Regions from separate parts of the Homo sapiens genome. Here region 2 is linked to region 1. The links are contacts of gene promoters, found by promoter capture Hi-C in human tissues and cell types (Jung and others, 2019). All regions are on one chromosome and are shown on one strand. Each heading gives the region's core, a stretch centred on a gene start or on the middle of the fragment in contact. The rest is flanking DNA. Distances are from core to core; before and after follow the strand shown.

Region 1 (4,326 bases), core at 606-3,105:
AGTCAGTGTCTTCTCTACTAATTCACACTGAGAGTCACAGCACGGAAAAGACAGTTAGAGTCTTAGAGGTCGGCAAAGCCCACCATTGACCTCATATGGGAATCCCTTCCACCCACCCTTAACAGATGGTCTTTTAGCCTCTGGCCCAGCACAGCCACAGACGGGGAGCTCACTCTCTCACTGTGCAGACCTGACTGCTGTTGTCCAATTCTTGGCAAGTTTGATCCCATATGGAGCTAATAATGGGTACCCTTTAAGGAACACTCACCACCTGCCAGACACTATGCTAGGCATCTTCCATGCCTATCTTATTTAATCTTCATAATAACCCTCTAGGGTAGATACTATAATACGATTATCCCCATTTCTCAGAATGAGTGAAACAAGTCATAGAGGGTTTAAGGAATTTGTTCATGGCCCCAAGGCAGTAAATGATGGAGTCAGTGAATTGAGGAAGGATCACTCCAGAGCCCGAGCTCTTAAGCACTTTGCTCCGCTGCCCAGAGTAAGAATAGCTAACATTTGTGGAGTATTTACTAGGGGTCAGGTTCTATACTGAGGGGTTCCATATATACTGTCTCACTTCATTGTAACAAGTCATGAAGTAGATTTTATTATGCTCATTTTAGAGATGAGGACCCCAAATGTCCAGAGGTTTTAATTCATCGAAGGTCATAAGCAGAGCTGTTACTCTAATCCAGGTCATTTTGACCCTAAACACATACTCAATTAATATCTCTAAGTGCTGCCTATAAAATATTCTACAGGTGAGAAAACTGAGATTCAGGAAACATGGAAGTTTGTCAAAGGTCTTGAGCTAGAAGGCAAGAGCCAGGAGGTCCGCCTGACTCAGACTGTGAGCACCACCTTGCTCTCCCCTTCACCTGAAACCCTCCCCTTCCTGGGTACCTCTCCTGCCACCAGGACCACAGAGGAGAAGGCAGGTTCCCTGATCAGGGATGAAGCCCGTTTCCCTTTAATAAGGTTTCCATGTCACTGGTTGAGCATGGGTCCAATCACCTAAGTGTGAGAACTGCCTGATTAGAGAAAGTTTATTATCTTTTCCAAATTCTGAGATTCTAAGAGTTCCTTCACCCATCCTTGGTCATCTTTAAGATAGGGCCATAAAAAGCAATATAAATTTGAAGGTCAGAAAGCCCTGGGTTCAAATCCCTGCTCTGCCATTTCCGATATGGGTGACTTAAAGCAAATTGATTAACCTCGTAGAAGCTCAGTTTCCTTGTCTATAAAGTAGAGATAAAAATGACTGCCTGGTATGGTAGTCAGTCTTCCTCTTTTGGAAGTTTGGGCTTCCTGCTGAAAGTCCTTTCAAAATATATCTATGAAGTTCCAGGAACTAGGGCTTGAACTGCCGATGATGCATGCTGTCAACCAACGTAACAGTAATCATTGCTATCATCAGTGAAATGTCACTGGGCTTTTTGTGTTTGTTTGCGTGGTCCTGTATCTATTCTTTTTCTTTTATCGCACCAAATCTCACCTTATCTCACTGACACAGCCTCTCCTCCTCATCTTCCTCTTTTGGGAAAGGTTCAGAATGGCATAGGGATTAAAAAACGTTCAATTTGGAGTCAGATATTTTGCCATTTTTGACTGTGTAACTTTATCCAAGATAGCTACCCTCTATGAGCTTGCCTTCCTTTGTCTATAAAAAAGGAGTGAAAATACCTACCTCCCTTCATAGGATCATTCAGCGTTAAATGAGATACTCATAGCAGGTGTTCAAAAGTTACTTCTCTTTCTCTTCCTTGTCCTCTCTTGTCTCACTTGGCTAACTCTGAGGCTGACCTCTCAACTGCATCAAATACTATTTGTCACCTCCTCCTCTTCCTCTTATAGCTCCCCAAGTATTTCTAGAGTGGCCATGCTCTCGGTTTGAGCTGAGGATAATCCATCAATTATTACAATGAATGTGAGTGTACTCTGTAGCCTTGTGAAAAGTATTGTTCAAATGTAAACTACTTATTTTGCTCTTCCTGGCCAAAGCTTGTGAATATATACTTACTACAACATGATTTGCACTGTATTCATTCAAATAATATTATTGAGCATCTTATGGGTTTGTGGTTCTCAATACTGTGCCTGGCACATAGTAAGTGCTCAATACATCTTGGATTGCTAAAAAATTATTGAGTGTATGAATGAATATTTCTTTGAAATAGCAATTATGTTGGCAGAGTTGATTTCCATCAAAACCGAGTGATTGAAGGAGAATGAGAACGAGATGGACTTTGGTCCTAGACTCTCTTGACTCTAATCTCGAGTTCTTTTCACTATCAGTCTTTCCAATACCAGCAGAATGGGATCCGTGCTGTAAGACAGACACAGGTTTCAAGGGTGACAGTGTAGACTGAGGCCACCATAAAGATCAGGTTCAGATCTCACATCCCCAAGGCTTACTGGTCAGTACCCCAGTTAGTAGAGTTTGGCATCTAGAGATCTGAGTAGGCATCAAGGCCTGAGCTTCTGCCTCCTGGATTCTGCCTCCCTGGAGTCCATATTCCACACATGGGAAATTAAAGTCAGGCAGGGATTAGCTGGGCCACATTCCACCCTTGAACACCTGTCTATGTTGACAGCTTGGAGTGGGGTACAGAATTCATCCTCTGGAAGAAACAGGGTGTACTGTGCAGCCTCTTCCCAGTTCCTCACCCCCTGGCTGCTTACCTGGCCACCTTATCCTGCTAGACACAGTGCACAGAAAGCATGGAAAGTAAGAAGGGAATTAGGGACATAAAAGAACGAGCCCCAGCTTTGGAGCCAGCTAGGGCTGGAGGTGAGCCTGCCCCTGCCACTTCCTAGCTGTTAAGATTGCTGGCAAATCTTCCAAACTGTCTGTCAGCCTAATTTCCTTGAGAGAGAGTAAAGCAAAGGAATGAGAATCGTAGTACCTGCCTCACCAAAATGTTGCTAGGGTGTCTGTGTCTTGGCTCCACACATGTGGAACACCTAGCAGATGGTTGGGCCAAAGTAAATGTCCCACTCTCCACCTCTCTACCCTGCTTTCAGCCCCAGAGACAGCAAAGCAAATGTACATTGGAGTTGAGCAGTTGCCTTAATCAAAGACCCTTTCCCTCCCATGAAGTCGTTCTGGCCTTGCAGTTCTCATTCATTTCTTGTGTACCTGCTGCACACCACAGCCCTCCACGCCAGTGTGGGCATTTATTATTGGGCGCTCACAGGAGGGTCAAGCTGCTACCCAGACCTAACTGGCAACTGCTGTAAGCTTCATAAGGTGGGCAGATTTGTGTCTCCATACTGCCTCCAGGGGAGCTTGGTTTGGGCCGGGCAGCCAACTGAATTATTCATGACATGTGTGCTCTCTGTCTTTTTTCCTCCAAGCCTCTTTGGTTTAGAGACTGATATTTGTCTGCATGTGGCCTCTAAGGACGGCTCCCTTCCTGTGGGAAGACTGCCAGGTGGATGGTGAAAGGAAGAAGGTATGGGGCAGTGGTGTCCCTTTGAGGTGGAAAGCTTGCCTGGAAGCCTCATTCACTTAAAGGGCTGGCATGGCGCAAATGGGAGTCAGTTTCTCATCAGACAATGTAGCTTGGAGTGAGTAGACTGAATCAGGAAAGTGGTAGTGCATTTTATTTCCTAGAGGGTACTAAACACTTGGTGAAATAGTAAGAAAACTAAGCACTAGGGAAATCTCCTAAGACGAGCTTGTCCAACCCGCGGCCCAGGGTGGCTTTAAATGCAGCCCAACACAAATTCTTAAACTTTCTGAAAACACTTTGGGATTTTTTTTGCAGGTTTTTTTTTAGCTCATCAGCTATTGTTAGTGTTAGTGTATTTTATGTGTGGCCCAAGACAATGCTTCTTCTTCCAATGTGGCCCAGGGAAGCCAAAAGATTGGACAACCCTGACCTAAGAATCTTCAGCCTTTTAAGCAGAACTTTTTGGTATTTGTATTGTATTGTAGTTTGTATTATATGCAGTTATAATTGCAGAGTCTATAATCTAATCTAAATGAAAGCAGAACTGTTCCAAGTAGGTTGGGGTAGGGGGTCTCTTCCTCCACTGATGAAATTTCCCTCAGATGCTTCCAGGGAACCCTAGAATTTCATGGAGCTCAATTTTAAAACCAAGCAGAGTCATTCTCCAGGAAACCACACCAAACTGTGCTCAAACAGGCATAGGAGACAAGTATGTAGATATTTTCTTGAAAAGACATCTCCTCCCCATGAGGGCTTGATGTGGGGTCTCGAGCAAGGCCTGATGGATTTCTGAAGAGCAGATGGCAGAGGAGACTTGAACCCCAGCTCAGAGATTCCCTCTCTCAACCCTGGCTGCCTTGTAACT
Region 2 (4,418 bases), core at 1,739-4,238, 340 kb before region 1:
TCAAGTCTGTTCTTTTAGAACAAACAACTCACTCCCTGCTTGTTTTCCATGGCCCTTCTGGTTCAGACTGTGAATCAGCTTTGTTTTTCAGCCTTTGGAGTGTGCGGTGCCCCAGGACAGGTGTGCCCAGGTCGGGGTGAGAGTCGGTCCCCTTGCGTTGTTGGATTGGGTTGGAGGCAGCATGCCTAGCCAGGGGCCCTGTAGTCTGGGGAGCTCATGCCCTTCAGTTCTCGGTGTAGGACATTCAAGGTCAGTGGCTGCTTCCTCCTGAGCTTCTGAACCCAGATATATGACGTCCTCCGGCCAGAGGCCCTTTCACAGAGCCCAGGAAGAACAGGTTGCTCATTGCCAGCATGGAAATAAACCTGAGTGTTGGCTCTCAGCCCCTTTTAAACTCAGACATGGTAGACATACATTAAATGAAGGCTGTAGAACATGGGCATCTTACACCTTTTGTGAAATTATATCTGAAGCGTGGCCAGCTTTTACTTCCCAAAACTCACTCTTTGTTCTATTTTGACCTCTACAATTTATTTCTAAAGACCACATCATATCCCAGTTTACCTCCTGGCTCTGCCGCTTTCTCAGCCATGTGATGCTGGGCAATTCCTAAGCTTTCTAGAACTTTAGTTTCTTCCTCTGAAAAATGAGTTTTGCATAACTTTTTGTGACCCTTAAATAAGCTAGTACTCGTTCCATGCCTGCCTAGGCCATAAACGACCATCAAATCATGATCAACCCTTTCCCACAGTAAAGCTCAGAAAAGGCTCCATCCTCAATGCCCTTTAAGACCATTACTGTCTCCCTTCCTGCCATTCTTCACTGGGATGAATAACTGCAGTTTTTCACATTTGCAGGCATCACATTTCTCTTTGTGCATGAAGCCCAACCCTCTATACAGTATTTATTCACAGATATCTGAACAGCACACTTGTAACTGGAAATCTGTCTGCCTCAAGACTTGTATTTCCTGTGTGTTATATTCCTAGCCCTGGGTCTTTCCTCTTGTAAAACAAATTAATTATCTTCTAACTCCTGGTCAGCTTCTTACCCACTCTGACCTCTGGACTTTTATCAGCACGCTTGTACTTAGCAGGAAACCCCCCCAAAACCCACTGGGTTTGGCTGTATGCCTTTTCTCAACGTTCTCACATATTTGTACGGTTATATTAAACTTTACAAAAGTACTTTCCTATACTTTATCTCATTCAATTCTCACAAGTCCCTTTGATAGAGGTAGGCTACCCTTAGTTTTATTGTTCAGAAAATGGAAACTCAGATAAGTTAAGTGATATTCAGAGCTATAATTTGAACGGGCTCTATAACTGATTATCTTTATTTTCTTCTTGAATATCCCAGGATTTCTGAGTTTCTATTCTATCAAGATTCTGTCTCCACTTCCTCCAAGGGAATTTTGGCTATTTGCTGGCTGAATGCTGCTGCAGCTCCCTCTTCCTTCATTCCTCTCTTCCTCCCTTCCTCCCTCCCTCCTTCTCTCTTTCCTTCCCCCCTTCTCTCCTTCGAAGGAGGAGGCCCCTTGCCCTGTGTCTCCTGTTTCTGATGGATGACACGTGTGTCTGGGCTGCAGAGCACCTGTCTGCCTGAACCCCAGGGAGGACACAAAGCCCTGGGGCTCAGCTACACCTCCTGCCCAATAGCCTGGGCTCATTGCCACTGACCACAAACGACTGAGTTGTTCAGAAAGGGAACAAAGCCAAGTCATAAGACTCCCTCACATTTTCTGGATCATAAAGCAGTTCTACATGCATTGTGATGAATTGTATGTACCCAGCATTGAGATTTAATCCCAGATGTAAACTGAGGACACAGGCCATCCCCAATTTCCCACTCTTCGTGCTGTTCACTTATACCCTTCCCTGCATAGAGCTGCCTCTACCTCCCTCCAGCCCTGACATAGGAGATGGTCCATACATGCTTATTAAATTACATTGAATCGTATTGCAGAGACAAGGTTCCTCAGACCAGTAACTCAACTCCTCCTTCTTGGAGGAGTCACCACCTTGGCTCAGGAACAGGGCAGAAATTAGAGTCGGCAGCTTGGATCTTTCAGCAGCATTTCCACTCAGACCATTGCTTAAAACCTCTTCTTATTCTCAATCACACCTATGTCTGTCATTCACTGGGATATTTTAAAAAGTCCTTGACTAAAACCTAGAGGAAACAGTGGGAATCCTAACCACTGGATAAATTATCCTCCCATTTAATAGAGCTTTTAATATATTTCAACATAGCAATGTCTTTTTGGGGTCCAGTTTTGATTAATTTCAAAAGATTAAAAGCAAACTTGTTGCTGAATATCTTTGGGATACAAAAGTCTATTTAAAATCAACAAGCCCAAAATCTCAGTCATTCACCACGACCTTTTGAATAACACCATTCCAGGTAAATTGAGCATGGGAAAGCTGTCTTATATATTGCATCTAGTACAATCGCTTATCGCTTTGTATCTGTGCAGTACTTTACAGTTTGGAAAAAATGTCGCCAATTTGTATTGATCCTTGCAGAAGAGGAGACCAAGCCCCTGAGGGCAGGAACCTTCTCAAAGTCTGTCATCCATGAATTATATGGTGGTTGTAAGACGAGAAGGTCAGCAGACTTTCCATTATTTCCTCCCGCTTTCCAGTTGTTCCAACTAAGATGACAGGAAATGTAATTCCACCACGTAAGTAGTTTTATAATGAGGATAATTCTTTACTCATTTATCTGCCTATGAGGTCCCTTAAGCCCCCTAAATATTAACCATCCTTGCAGGAATTTTTTAATACCTGCTAGATCCACACCAGAGTCAAGTACAACTTGAGCCTCCTTGCACAGAACCAGAGAGGGTGCTGGCACTTGAGACGTAAAATGTGCTCTTACTCTATGGGACCCTTTATAGTCCAAACCAGCCACAGAACCAACCCACCTCCAGCTCAAATGTCTGCCTTGCTCCACTCACCTGCCTGTGTGGACTCCGTTCAGCTCAACTGAGTCTGAGGGGCTCTTGTCCTCTTTAAATATATGAAGGCTGTCACCAGCCTTGGCCTGCTGGGGGAAGGGCAGGAGGGAGGCCAAGGGAGAGGGTGAATGAGACGTGAGTAACACAACTGCTATCAGGGGCTGAAAATAGACTGTGACCAAAGCCCTGAGTTTTGTCTCCCCCAACCCCCCAGCCAGCTGTGAGCCTCTTGGAGAACCGAATCACTTGGGTTCTATTTGCACTGCCAATTGCTTATGGCACCAAGGGATCAATTTATGAAGTGTGTCATTTCTGATCAAGTGGTTGGAACAGGAACAAGAGCTAAGGGTTTAACATCAAAAATCATTTCTCCAGGCCCCCACCCCACTGACCTTCCTGGAAATCATTGCAGGGTACCTGCAAATGAGTCATGTGCCATATCTGGGAGCCTCTGGAACTTAGAGCCACAGGTCACCACACTCGTGAAGAGAACTCAGAGCTAAAAATAAGGGTGATGGGTGTCTGAAACGATACTTAGATAATCTCTTCAAAGAAGCTTGGGAGAAAAAAGGTTGGCACATCACTTGGGACCTGTCACTCCATCTATCCTAGGAAACGAAGTTTTCTCTAAAAAGTTTTGATTTACTTTGTTATTATCCTTTTCTATTTAAGAATTTGATACAGCAGTGCATATTTATCATCATCACATTATATTTATAACATCTTGATATGTCTCTGTAGACCCATATTTTCTTTGGAGGTCTAATTTTTCTTTGTCTGGAATTCACACCGTTTAAATTTGATCAAGCACCAGGGACTGATATAAATTATGGCATTGAAAAGCTGACAAGAGGTTCAGAGATGTGAAGACCAATTCTTCATGTTATAGATGAGGAAACTGAGGCACCAAGCCCCTTCCACTCATGTTGACCCGGATGTTGAGGTAAGGTACATGTAGAACCCAACCGGGAGGTTCATGATCCAGCCTTCACATCAGATATTAGCCCTTTGGTTACCTGCCCACAAAGCAATTGTTGAAGGATAGAATATTTCACTGTCAAGAAGGTTGCAGTAATTTCACAAAGACGGCCGTGGCATAGCCTCCTATGAGATATCCGTGGTCTGTGTTTTCACTAAATGGCATCTTCATCATAAAGACGAGGCAATCACGAGGATTTTAGAAAGTTAAAGCTAGAAAGGACTTTAGAAATCGTCTAGGATAGTGGCTTTTGTTTGTTTGTTTGTTTGTTTGTTTAGAGAAATGGTCCCGTTCTGTTGCCTAAGCTGGAGTACAGTGGCATGATCACAGCTCACTGCAGCCTCGATCTTTTGGGCTCAAGCAATCCTCCTGTCTCAGCCTCCTGAGTAGCTGGGACTATAGGCGCACACCAGCACGCCTGGCTAATTTTTTTGTAGGGATGTGGTTTCACCATTTTGCCTAGGCTGGTCTCAAACTTTG

The links. The method cuts DNA at HindIII sites, captures the fragments that hold promoters and counts their contacts. A contact is called where the count stands out against the background at its distance.
Region 2: a contact is called between the fragment with the promoter of CSRP3 here and a fragment that was not itself captured in region 1, in 1 of the 25 tissues and cell types used here (IMR-90 fibroblasts).

The regions. Positions count from the first base shown.
Region 1 is chr11:19,541,989-19,546,314 of GRCh38, forward strand. It overlaps a transcript of NAV2 not described here. Among named protein-coding and RNA genes, the nearest start is that of NAV2-AS4, 20 kb to the left of the region's middle. The HindIII fragment of the contact is 3,031 bases long and covers 341-3,371 here.
Region 2 is chr11:19,198,995-19,203,412 of GRCh38, forward strand. CSRP3 (cysteine and glycine rich protein 3) reads right to left here and starts at 2,989. Exons shown (of 6, transcript NM_003476.5): 1 at 2,960-2,989. All of the region lies in intron 1 of CSRP3-AS1 (CSRP3 and E2F8 antisense RNA 1), which reads left to right. The HindIII fragment of the contact is 17,209 bases long and covers 2,065-4,418 here.